Regions from separate parts of the Homo sapiens genome. Here region 2 is linked to region 1. The links are contacts of gene promoters, found by promoter capture Hi-C in human tissues and cell types (Jung and others, 2019). All regions are on one chromosome and are shown on one strand. Each heading gives the region's core, a stretch centred on a gene start or on the middle of the fragment in contact. The rest is flanking DNA. Distances are from core to core; before and after follow the strand shown. Region 1 holds the start of ELOVL4 (ELOVL fatty acid elongase 4). Region 2 has its middle 360 kb from the start of BCKDHB.

Region 1 (5,456 bases), core at 2,146-4,645:
CAAACCTTTGACCCAGAAATTTCCCTTGTAAATATTTATGCTAAGAGTTATTAAACAAGTGCACAAAATTGCATATTGTGGATACTAATAGCCCAATTGATACAGTAGTTCAAATTTGAAACAATCTAAATGCTAATCTATAGGGTAAATGGCTACATAAATGAGTGTGTATCCATATAATGGAATATTAAGTACTTGGTATTACGTTGAAAAGTATTCCTGATGTATTAAATTTTTAAAAAAGCAGATTATAGAGTAGCATTATTTTAAAAAACCATCTGTGTTAAGAAAAAAAGGCTTATATAGGCATGTAAAATTTATTTAGAATGGGAGACAAAATTATAGGGGGGATTTTCATTTTGTTTCTTTTTTTGTTATTTTATCTGTGCTAATGTATTATCAGGATAATCTATGTCCATTTAAATAAAATAAAAATAATTCATACAAGCTAACAAAAAGGTAAACATCTTTAAAAGTTTGAATGAAACATATCTCGTGGAAAACATTGTAATTCCAAGTTAGTCAAGCACCTGTGTTATATGATGGCTATAACGTGGGGGAGGAGTAATGAGCAGAATAAAACAAAAGACTGGAACTAATAGTAGTTAGTGTTATCAACAATTTTCTCCATTTTCTCTAAGTAGCATCCATGTAGCAAAATTTACTTCTAGAAGATTCAAAGTCTTTCTCTACAACTCTTTAATTAGGTTATTTCTTTTTACTCCTGACTCAACAGGCTTCCAGGTTCACTTTTCTTTGAAAGCAGAGGTTGCTGACAATATTACCAACATGGAAAGGTGGACTAGGAAAAAAAAGATGGATAGCTTGATTTATGTTGCTAACCTTGTATGGACTGTAGGACATTTAAAAATATTTTGTACTGGGTGTGGTGGCTCACTCCTGTAATCCCAGTGGTTTTGAAGGCCAAGGCAGGAGGATTGCTTGCAGGCAGGAATTTGAGACCAGCCGGGGCAACACAGCCAGTCCTCCTTCTCTATCAGCTATTTAGGAGGCTGAGGCAGGAGGATGAGGCAGGAGGATAGCTCGAGCCCAGGAATTCGATGTTGCACTAACCTATGATTACACCACTGCAATCCAGCCTAGCTGATAGAGTGAGACCCTGTTTCTAAAAAGAAAAAAATATTGCTATTTTATACAAAAAAATTTATGATAAAATGTCCTCTCCTTTAGGTTTTGTAGGTAACTGTATCCTATTTGCATTTGATCCACATGAAAGAACTCTGTTCTCAAAGTTTGCAGATGCTGTTGTTGCTTGTATTTGCTTTTACTCTGTTATGATGCTACCAAGATTTTGGTTAGATGGCTGTTATTCTAGGTGGCAGACATGCGGGTTTCCCTCCCTTTGCACAACTAAACAAGGTAGGCTTTGGTTCTGGGCAGTCACTGGTATTTACAAACCACTTATTCATGCCAGGTAATAGGGTTCCAGATTGGGTAAGTTTTATGTTCTGGTTCTTGGTATATGTTTAGACAGCTTATAAATGTAAATAAACATTCTACTCTTACAGGTGGAGTGTGGACACGGTGATATCCGTGTGACCGCCATTCCCAGCTGAAGGTTATCTCATCTATGATTTTCTTATACGTGACTGGCACCCCCTAGTGAATAGGGACTTAAGTTGACCTCCACGGTAGAAGAAATACCAGGGAAATACCTGAAGCTGTTTTAACAATTTCTCCTTGTATTAAGTATTATGCTGCAGTTTTGCGTGTGTGAATGGAAGTATGGGTAGAGATCTGTTCTCCCTAAAAACTCCAGGATTCCACAATATAGAAATAGTAATCAAATTTTTAGGTGAAGCTCGAACTAATCCGAACTTTGTTAGATCATCACTGTAAATGAATGGGTATTTATCCACTCCCTAAATGAAGAGACTTGACTGGATTTCTTTTTTTTATATAGCTACTAGAATCTGTTACACATAATTTAGGATTGAGACTTGAGAAATTGTCATTCCAATCCAGAAAACTTTAGATTTGCAAATATATTTGACAAATTAATAAATTAACATTTTATTTGGTTAATTTCAAGAATAGGGCATTTAAAGAAGTCTGTGTTTGCTTTAGTTCGGCAATAAAGTTCCTGCCACTCACAATAATCCTTATTATTCTCTGAAAGACATGTTATATTTTTGTCATCATAAATATTTATTAATTACTGTTTATAGCACTGGGTTAGGTACTCATCAAGCAACCAAAAATAATTCTTACCATCTAGGATGCTTCCAATATAAAATATAGACAATATATAACCAGGTCAATTGGGAAATAGATCATTTCAGTATGATAAAAGATAGTATTCACATTAACAGTGTGAAAGGGCAGGAACAATAAGACACTTGACTCACTGGTCTTTAAAATGTAGCATCCAAAATGAGCAAGTGGAGAAAAGGTTAAACAAGTAGGTGACACATTTAAAAAACAAGTAGATGAAAGGACTATTCTCAAAAATCTTGTTTTATGTGAGAAACCATCAAATTATGAATTCCAAGTACTGTATTTTTTTTACTTTTCAAGGGTAGGCTCTCCTATACCTTATCTAAACAATTTTTCAAAATAGCCACAATTACTTTGTTTTCCTCTCTACACTAAATTGCCCTTTGCCTCTTGAGCGATTATCTTTTTCAGATTCACCTCAACTTCTTCAGGTTCAAGCGGACTTCACCTGTAAGCCCCTCTCGGTTCTCCCTCTTCTCTGAACTACTAATGGCCTAATTTAGCACAATTATATTGCTTTGTTCATTCCATGTATAGTAAAAGAGTCTACAAAACACATGCAAGCATTCATGCAATTATATGTTGATTTGTTCATGGGTCGACCCCAAAGTCTATTCTCCATCGCTGAAGCATGGAAGACAAATACCCTTCACTTCTTCAGAGGCATAACACATGCACTTCTCTTGTCATGGTGACAGGCATGTGCTGGTGGAGGTCAAAGAAACAGGAACACAAGTGAAATCGAGGTGAGTGTCAGGTAAGGACCAAAGCACCACGCCTACCTCATCTTTGCCCACAGAACACCCATTCTTCCCGTGTCCTGTTTCCCAGGACGTATCCGGGGCGGATAAGAAATCACCCGTGGGGAGGCGGTGAACTCCTCCGCAGGGGCCGATGCCCGGGACAGGGGCGGGGAAGGCTAATGAGGCGACTTGTGCGGGGAGGGGCCAAGGAGGAGCCCAGGTGTCCCGCTCCCGCTCGACGGCGCGCGCCTGCGCGAGCCCAGTTGGCGTCGCACCCTTGAGCGCAGCATCCCTACGCCAGCGAGTCCCAATACTAGGGAGGGAGGGAGGGAGGAGGGGCGGCCGGCCCCCCGCCCCCGCGCGCGGCCACGTGACGCCGGCTGAGGAGATTGGAGGGGCGGCTGCGCGAGGCTGCAGACTGGTGCAGCGCACTGTGCTGGCGGCTGGGCCTCCTCCACCTCCTCGTCTTTCTCCCGGGAACCTTGACGACGCCTTCCGCTTGGCCCTGCCTTCTGCCGCATCCCCGCCGCCGCGGCGCCTTGAGGAGCAGGAGAAGACGCAGCCGGGCCGCCGCCGTTAGAGGGGTTCCCGGCCGCCGCTCGCCCCGTCGGCCGCCACCGCCTCCGGGGTCAGCCCTCTCTCTGGGTCTCCGCTTTCTCCTGCCGCCAGCGCCCGCTCATCGCCGCGATGGGGCTCCTGGACTCGGAGCCGGGTAGTGTCCTAAACGTAGTGTCCACGGCACTCAACGACACGGTAGAGTTCTACCGCTGGACCTGGTCCATCGCAGGTAAAGCCGCTGACTTCCCCATCCTCGCTCGGTCCCCCGCGGGGGGTCACCGGCCCCTGGTCTCGCAGCTCCCGGGCCCGGCCCCACAGGCCCCCGCGCCCTGCGGCTTTCGGATGCTGCGGATCAGCGGAGGGGCCGGCGCGGGCACTGCGGTTGAGCACTGGTTAATCTGATCCGAATGTTAAGGCCTCCCCTCCCCCGACACTCGCAGGGTTTTCTTCTGAGCTCCCTCCATCTCTCATCAGCTCTCGGATGCGGGAGCTGACATATCAGATGGAGCCTGTGCAGCCAGGAGCTCCTCGCAGGAGCCGCCCCACCCTGTGCTCCCACATCTCCCGAGCTCGCCTCCCTCTTCCCCGTGCACAGGATTCCTTTTAACATTTAGTCCTATTTTGTATGGAGAGCGGGCTGGGGAGGAAGGAGGGCTTCAGGGGCAGCTGAAGGTACAGGAGGTTTCTTCAGCCTCCTGGTCGCTTTGACAGAACCCTGCTAATCTTTTCTTCTATCTAGCTCCTTCATCTATAGTATAATTCGGACTGAAAAGTAAAATAATATTGTTTGGCTCCTTGAACCTTGAAGAATGTTAGTTTCCGAGGCATTTTCAACAGCAAATATGTTTGAAGTGATTGTCTATAATGGCTTTGCGCACTGCAGTGCAGTCAGGGGGAGGGGGAGGCCAAAACACCGGGGAAGAAATCAGTCTTTAGGAAGGGGGTCTCTACAGCAACACCTAGAGGTTGTCCCAGATGCCTACATATATACAGTTCTTAAATCAGCAAACTTTTCTTTAGCTGTTGCAGTTAATTTGGCAGGGCTGTCAATTGTTTGATTTATGCAGCTTTCCTAGCGTCCAACTGTGATATTATATTTTTACATTGTACTGTTTATTTCTTCATTTGCTTCGCTGCTTTTGATTTTAAAGCATTTAAAAGTCTTTGAAATCTAAAATAAGGTTTAAAGGATTTCAGAAATGATTTTACGAGGTCAATTTTTCTGGTCCTTTTGCAGTATCACACTGCATCCTATCAGTGAAGGATATTAACGTTCCATCTTATGACTCTGCCTTCCCTACTTCGAAATGAAAATGTACTCCTGTAGTTTTTGTGTTCATTGTTGTTAGAGGAAATTAGACAGTGGTTACAGCATGAATGTAGTCCGATACATAGGGCTTATGTTTTGGGAAAAACGTATGCTGGAATTATTTTTGTGAGAGACAAAATGATTATTTGGCATTAATACTGCATTCACTTCTTTAGAAAAGTATGTTCTTTTTCAGAAGATCTCAACTTTGACACTGGGAAATAAGCTATTTAATAAGCCATTACAGCTGAAAATGGTTAAAAGGCAGTTTTCAATGGAGTGTTTCTTCAGTTTTTTTTTTTGTTTCTATGCGCTATTACACTGATGTTACACTGTACCTGCAAAAACTGGGAAAGATGTGCCCTTCCCTTCACGTCTGTGATTTCGGTTCTTTAAACGTTGCATCAGGGCTTCCCATTACACAATTGTATAGAGCTGAACATCAGACAAGTTCTTTAGCAGGTAATTGCACTTCGCACACCTAGGAGTCAGACACTGTTGAGATACTCCAGTCTCCATATAGCCAGAGCCACACCCAGGAGTTCTCGGTCCTGTCATTCCTATCCTATCCCGGAGCTTTCCCATCTCTTGAGTCTCAGAAGGAAAAA
Region 2 (5,597 bases), core at 2,072-4,571, 520 kb before region 1:
GGAAATATGGGGTATACATATAATATACCTAAAGATGAGAAAAATACATGACTTCCTCCTGGAACTTCTCTCCTGCTTTGTGACAGAAAGCAGAAATTACCTGGTAGGAACTTAAGACATTTTACAAGATGTCAGCACTGGACTGAAGGTCCAAGACATCAACTTAAGTACCTCTGAGATTCTTCTATCAAAAGTAGATAATTACGACAAATTAATACATTTCATATCCTTTTAAAACTCTCCTTTGATGTTCTTCCTGGTTCTTTCCATTTTGCCAGCAGTTCCAACCACAGTGGCTTGTAATGTGAGGTCACATCACAGGAGGCAATGGAGACACAAAGCATCTACCCTTCATAATCTCCCAGTGAAAGCTTCTGTGTCCATCCAATGTGTCTGGGTATTTGCAAAACTGTACTTGGTTTATTGTTTTCCTTATTTCCTCTCCTACTTCCCTATCGGCAAGCAGCACTTCCCACACAAATGTAGCAGCAAACTGAAAAGCAAACAGATTTATTTATTTTATTCAAACTCTTGCTAAATGTGCAATTTGTGCCAGAGAGTATCCTCACCACTACTGAGAGATTGCTAATATGTTTACATGATGTGCTTTGCCTACGGGTGGAAGGAGGGATGGAATCAGAGATAACTCTGAAGTTCTGATGTTTCAACCTAAGTTAATACAAGCATTCATGTCTCCATGAAGAGAAATGACAAAAATCAGAGAAGGAAAATGTTTTGACAGAACAGTATTAGAAAATTTGATTTTAGACTTGTGCTGTGGTTGAGTTGCCAGCATATTTTCCTGGTATACAACATTCAGACATTTTGACCAGTTGTACTATAGTTTGGAAAGCTGTGAGATTTGTGACAGAAAATGGTGTAAAAAGAGAAATAAATCAGATGTACGAGGTGGAAGTATGTCTGTATGGATTCATATGCCCCTTCTGAGTTTCTCAGGTTTACCTGTTTCAATTTTCAGCAGCTTACTTCACTTCCACTACCAATGCAGGGCTATGCAGTCAGCCTTTTAAAACTAACCACTTTAAGCCCACAGTCTCTGACTCCTCTCATCTCTTCTACATTTGGGGAAATGCCACCACAGGGAGTGCATCTGGCTTCCCAGGAGGCTGCTAAAGGAGCTGAATGACCCAAACTGGAATGCAAGGTAGTTAACACTCTCTGGTGCTATCTTGGCCAAAGAGAGGCAGGGAAAAAAACCTGGGCAGCTCAATTTCCTCTGTCTTACTTTCTCCAATCAGCCTGCATAAAGAAGTCCTGTATGACTGAGTGTAGGCACCTACCAAATAACAGTAGGTGCTCTTTGCCCTGCTTTGTGAAGAAGCCAATGGAGGGGTAATGCTTCACCTTTCTTGGCTGCACCACTTACCTTTTCTCTTGTTCTCACTCTCCTGGGATTTAACTCCCAATAAAGCACTAGCACTTAATTCTTACCTGAGGCTCTATCTTCACTATCCTAGAATACAGAAACTAAGATGTACTGCAAATGTGGAAGAGCAGTATAATGAATATTGTGGCCTTTCTTCTGAGGTGAAATTTAATGGTTATGTTGGAAGAATAGTATGAAAGAAGTGTGAGGAATAAAGGGCAAGCAGTCTCCTTTCAACTGTTCAGTGAATGGCCTCCATTGGGCAAGACTGAGGAGAGGAATTTTTATTAGATATTAAGGTTTTCTTTTCAGATAAGGCAATTGAGCAATTATTCATAGAAATTCTAAGGAAGTTACTAATTTAAAATTTTATTTCACAAATAATAATTAGTAGAGCTAAGTGAATCACTAAAGATTTAAAGATGAGGCTGGGTGCAGTGGCTCACACCTGCAATCCCAGCACTTTGGGAGGCCGAGGTGGGTGGATCATGAGCTAAGGAGTTCAACACCAGCCTGACAAATATGGTGAAACCCCATCTCTACTAAAAATACAAAAAAATTAGCCGGGCGTGGTGACACATGCCTGTGGTCCCAGTACTCAGGAGGCCGAGGCAGGAGAATCACTTGAACCCAGGAGACAGAGGTTGCAGTGAGCCAAGATCGCGCCACTGCACTCCAGCCTGGGTGACAGAGTGAGACTCCACTTCAAAAGAATAATAATAATAATAAAGATTTAAAGATGAGAGAGACTCAATGCACTTGTAATCTGTGTTTGATGCAGGCAGACTCGGTCGGGTAGAAAGTGGGAGGGCACCTAACTAAGACTGGAGTGGTGGTGGAAAACCAGAGACTGTGCTTTGAAGGATATAGGAGTTATTCAAAGAAAGTAGGGAAGGTAGGAGGAATGAGCCCAAGGGAATGCTGGACACAATATTTCAGACATAGGGAACAGCAGATGGACAAGGCCCAAAACTTACTAACTGCATGCCTTTGTGTACATCACTTTACCTGTCTGAGTTTCATTATTCCCATATGTAAAGTGAGGAAGATAATACTGTAGTGTGACGAGGCCAGGAAAATTAAATGAGACAATATGTGTTCAATGTTATGGCATATAATAGATGCTTATGGGTGGTAGCTGTTTTTCTTTTAAGCCTTGAACATAGCCAAACCACTTTCTTTCTATTAGTTATGGATAGGAACTTTAAACAAACAACAAGGGCTAAGAAATCCCAGAACCTTTCAAATTTTGGAAAAAAAAAAGTATATTGAAAATCAAAATATTAGAAGCTCAAAACCTCAGAGAATCTAATCAAAGGCATTTCTCTATCTTTTAAACTCCTCACTTCTTTGCTTTGAGATAAATTTCACTCTCATATGTTGGTTTCCTCCACATCTACCTTATAAGGACAACAGTTTGTGTGTGAGCCTGTTTGAAGTCTACCAAGTCATAAGAATCAAACATACTTTTCATTGCCAAAGAAAAATATGTAGCCAAACCCTAACACAGCTTGAACTCACATGGAGTATCCTTTAAATTCTGAGAAATTTTTCAATTTGGCTAGAAAAACTAGTACCCCTTCAAAATTCAATACTTACCAAAAAGAAAAATCCAGCAAAACAAGTCTCTTTTCACTTTGCACATAAGAATTAAACAAAATGTCTATTTAATAACAAAACCACAATTCATAACAGATAATTCGAAATATGTTTGCACTTACTTAAAGCTTACAAATAAATCTAATTTAGGGAAACATGCAATTTTTAGCTCCTCACTTACTCATCCTTCTTTTTTGTTTAAATTGCAGGTGGGTGTCATTCCAAGCACTCTGAACTGTCCTGTGGAATTCAGAAAGTTCAGCTCTGCTCTGTGTTTGACAAGCTCCATTTTTCATGCGATGGCAGAAGACTGGAGACCTGAGGATATGTTCATGGTGGCTTGCTCCCAGTGCATCACAATCTGGAGAGGCCTCCGGCAGAACTATAGACAAATAATTTCAAGCTTCATTTGGAAGAAGAAAATCTATGGAAATATCAAGTCCTCTTGGCACTCTGTAACCACTGACAACCTTGATTTGATTCCCACAAATTCATGGAGCATCAGGTCCAACATTCTGGATTCTACTTGAATTCCCAAAAGCCATGAATGTGGAATTAAGTATTTCCCTGGCTTCAGAGATTATGGGGGCCATAATGCCTTCAAGAACCATAAAAGTTCTCTCTCATACTCACTTAGAAGGGCACGGAGAAGACTCCTGAAACACTGGCTATGTGCTTTCAGGGCCCAGTTTGTGGCTACTGTAACCTAAAATTAATTGTCTATTATCTCTCTATCATTCCCATGTCTGGATGTGAGCTGAAGGCACATCAGCTAAGAAAAGTTGCCCAGAAATCCTCATCTGATGCTTAGTGACTCTGAAATAATGCACGATATTTGAAGCATCTTCTTCTTCTTGGGTTATAATTCCACAATTAATTAGTTAATTCTAAAACATATCTGTTGAGTGCCTACCATGTACCAACTATTGAGAAAGACATTAGGGATATGATGTTGAAAAGATATAGCTCATGCCCTCAAATAACTCTTGAAGGAGAAAGATAAGTAAATAGGCATTGAAAATATTTTTTCATAAGTATCATGAAATATAAATGCATCAGATCTCATAGAAGTAACAAGAAAGAACTCCTAACTTAGGCCTAGAATTGAAAAGAGACAATATGTGTTTAATGCTACAGTATATGCTTAAAGGTAATAGTTGTTTTTCTTTTATGCCTTGAAAATAGTCAAACCACTTTTTATTTTTTATGGATAGGAACATGAAATAAACAGAAAGGGCTAGGAAAATCCAGTACCTTTATACATTTGAAAAAAAAAGTACATTGGTAATCAAAATATAAGAAGTTCAAAATCTCCAAGCATTTGATTAAAGGCAGTTCTTCTCTGTCTTTTAAACTCCTCATTTCTTTGCTTCATTTTCAGGTAAATTTTGCTGTCATCTGTTGGTTTTCTCCACATTTACATCATAAGGACAACTGTTTGTGTATTAGAAGCCAGACAAACAATGAGACCAACAAAGAGATTATTCCAGGAAGAAGGAAGGGCATAGGCAAAGACCCAGAGGAAAAACAGAAAATGGCTCATTGAACAATTTCAAGTATTTTAATATGGCCATAGGGTAGAGTACAAGAGGAAAGATGGAAAACACTAAAGCTAGAGAGATTAAAAAATAAAAAGAAATCAGAGCATCCAGGACTTCTTTACTTGCTTACAAGTTTGACTTTATGATTAGGATGATAGCAAATTTGGGGAGAGTTTTCATCAGGTGAAAGAAATGATCAGATGTCTATTTTGTAACACTTTGTAAAACTCTGAAGCATAGAGAAAAGAGTCAGGGAAAACCAGTTAGGAGTCTAAGGCAGTGATCAAGAAACAGACAATGGGAGCCTGAACTGAGACACTGACAATGAATATGACCAGATATGGATAAGATGAGAGAGGATTAGAATATAGACACAGTCTTGGATATTGATTATTTGTGGGAAAAAATGAAGGTGGACTCAAGAATGGTTTTTGAATGAGGCAACTAGGTGGTAGCATTTATGGAAACAGGAAGAATAGGAGAAGCAGGGCAGAACATAATGGGTTCAGTTTGGACACATTAAATGTGGGATACCAGAAGAACATCCAAGTAAAAAAATCTAGTGAGGTGTTGGAAATAGAGATTTTGATCTCAGAATATAATTGATTTTTAAATTCTTTATCCCATATGTAGTAGTTGATCTCATAAATAGATTACGTCACCAAGAGACTATGCGTTTAGTGTTTAATTCTAACAAGATCACGACAAAATCTCAGCAAGACCAACTATTAAGAGATTGGTCAAGAGCCATCATAAGGTAGAGTGGAGAATCTCTTTGAGAGTGAGGAATCTCAGATGCCAAGGAAGAGTTCAGCTCTGCTGAAGAGTTTCACAGAGAAGGAAGACTTTCACAGAGAAGAGTTCAGTCAACAATGTCAAAGTTTGCAGAGCAGTCAAGAAAGATAAGGTCTAAAAAGTGTCCACTTAACTCAGTGTAATTTCAAGCCAAGATCAGTCTTGTTCCAAAAGTATTAACTCAGCAGAGTTTTGAGTCACTGTGGGATAGAGCTCATCAGGTTTTTACAATAGTAACAAATGCTTCATGTCTCTTATTATTCATAACTGAAATA

The links. The method cuts DNA at HindIII sites, captures the fragments that hold promoters and counts their contacts. A contact is called where the count stands out against the background at its distance.
Region 2: a fragment that was not itself captured here is called in contact with the fragment with the promoter of ELOVL4 in region 1 in 1 of the 25 tissues and cell types used here (aorta).

The regions. Positions count from the first base shown.
Region 1 is chr6:79,945,492-79,950,947 of GRCh38, reverse strand. It overlaps ELOVL4 (ELOVL fatty acid elongase 4), which reads left to right and starts at 3,395. Exons shown (of 6, transcript NM_022726.4): 1 at 3,395-3,768. The coding sequence starts at 3,669. It overlaps LOC124901350, which reads left to right and starts at 1,315. Exons shown (of 2, transcript XM_047419628.1): 1 at 1,315-1,380; 2 at 2,937-3,561. The coding sequence starts at 3,133. The coding sequence ends at 3,561. LOC124901351 (a long non-coding RNA gene) reads right to left here and starts at 3,143. Exons shown (of 3, transcript XR_007059656.1): 1 at 3,021-3,143. RefSeq lists a silencer at 3,286-3,335. The HindIII fragment of the contact is 11,635 bases long and covers 1-5,456 here.
Region 2 is chr6:80,460,643-80,466,239 of GRCh38, reverse strand. It overlaps a transcript of BCKDHB not described here. Among named protein-coding and RNA genes, the nearest start is that of BCKDHB, 360 kb to the right of the region's middle. The HindIII fragment of the contact is 3,155 bases long and covers 1,744-4,898 here.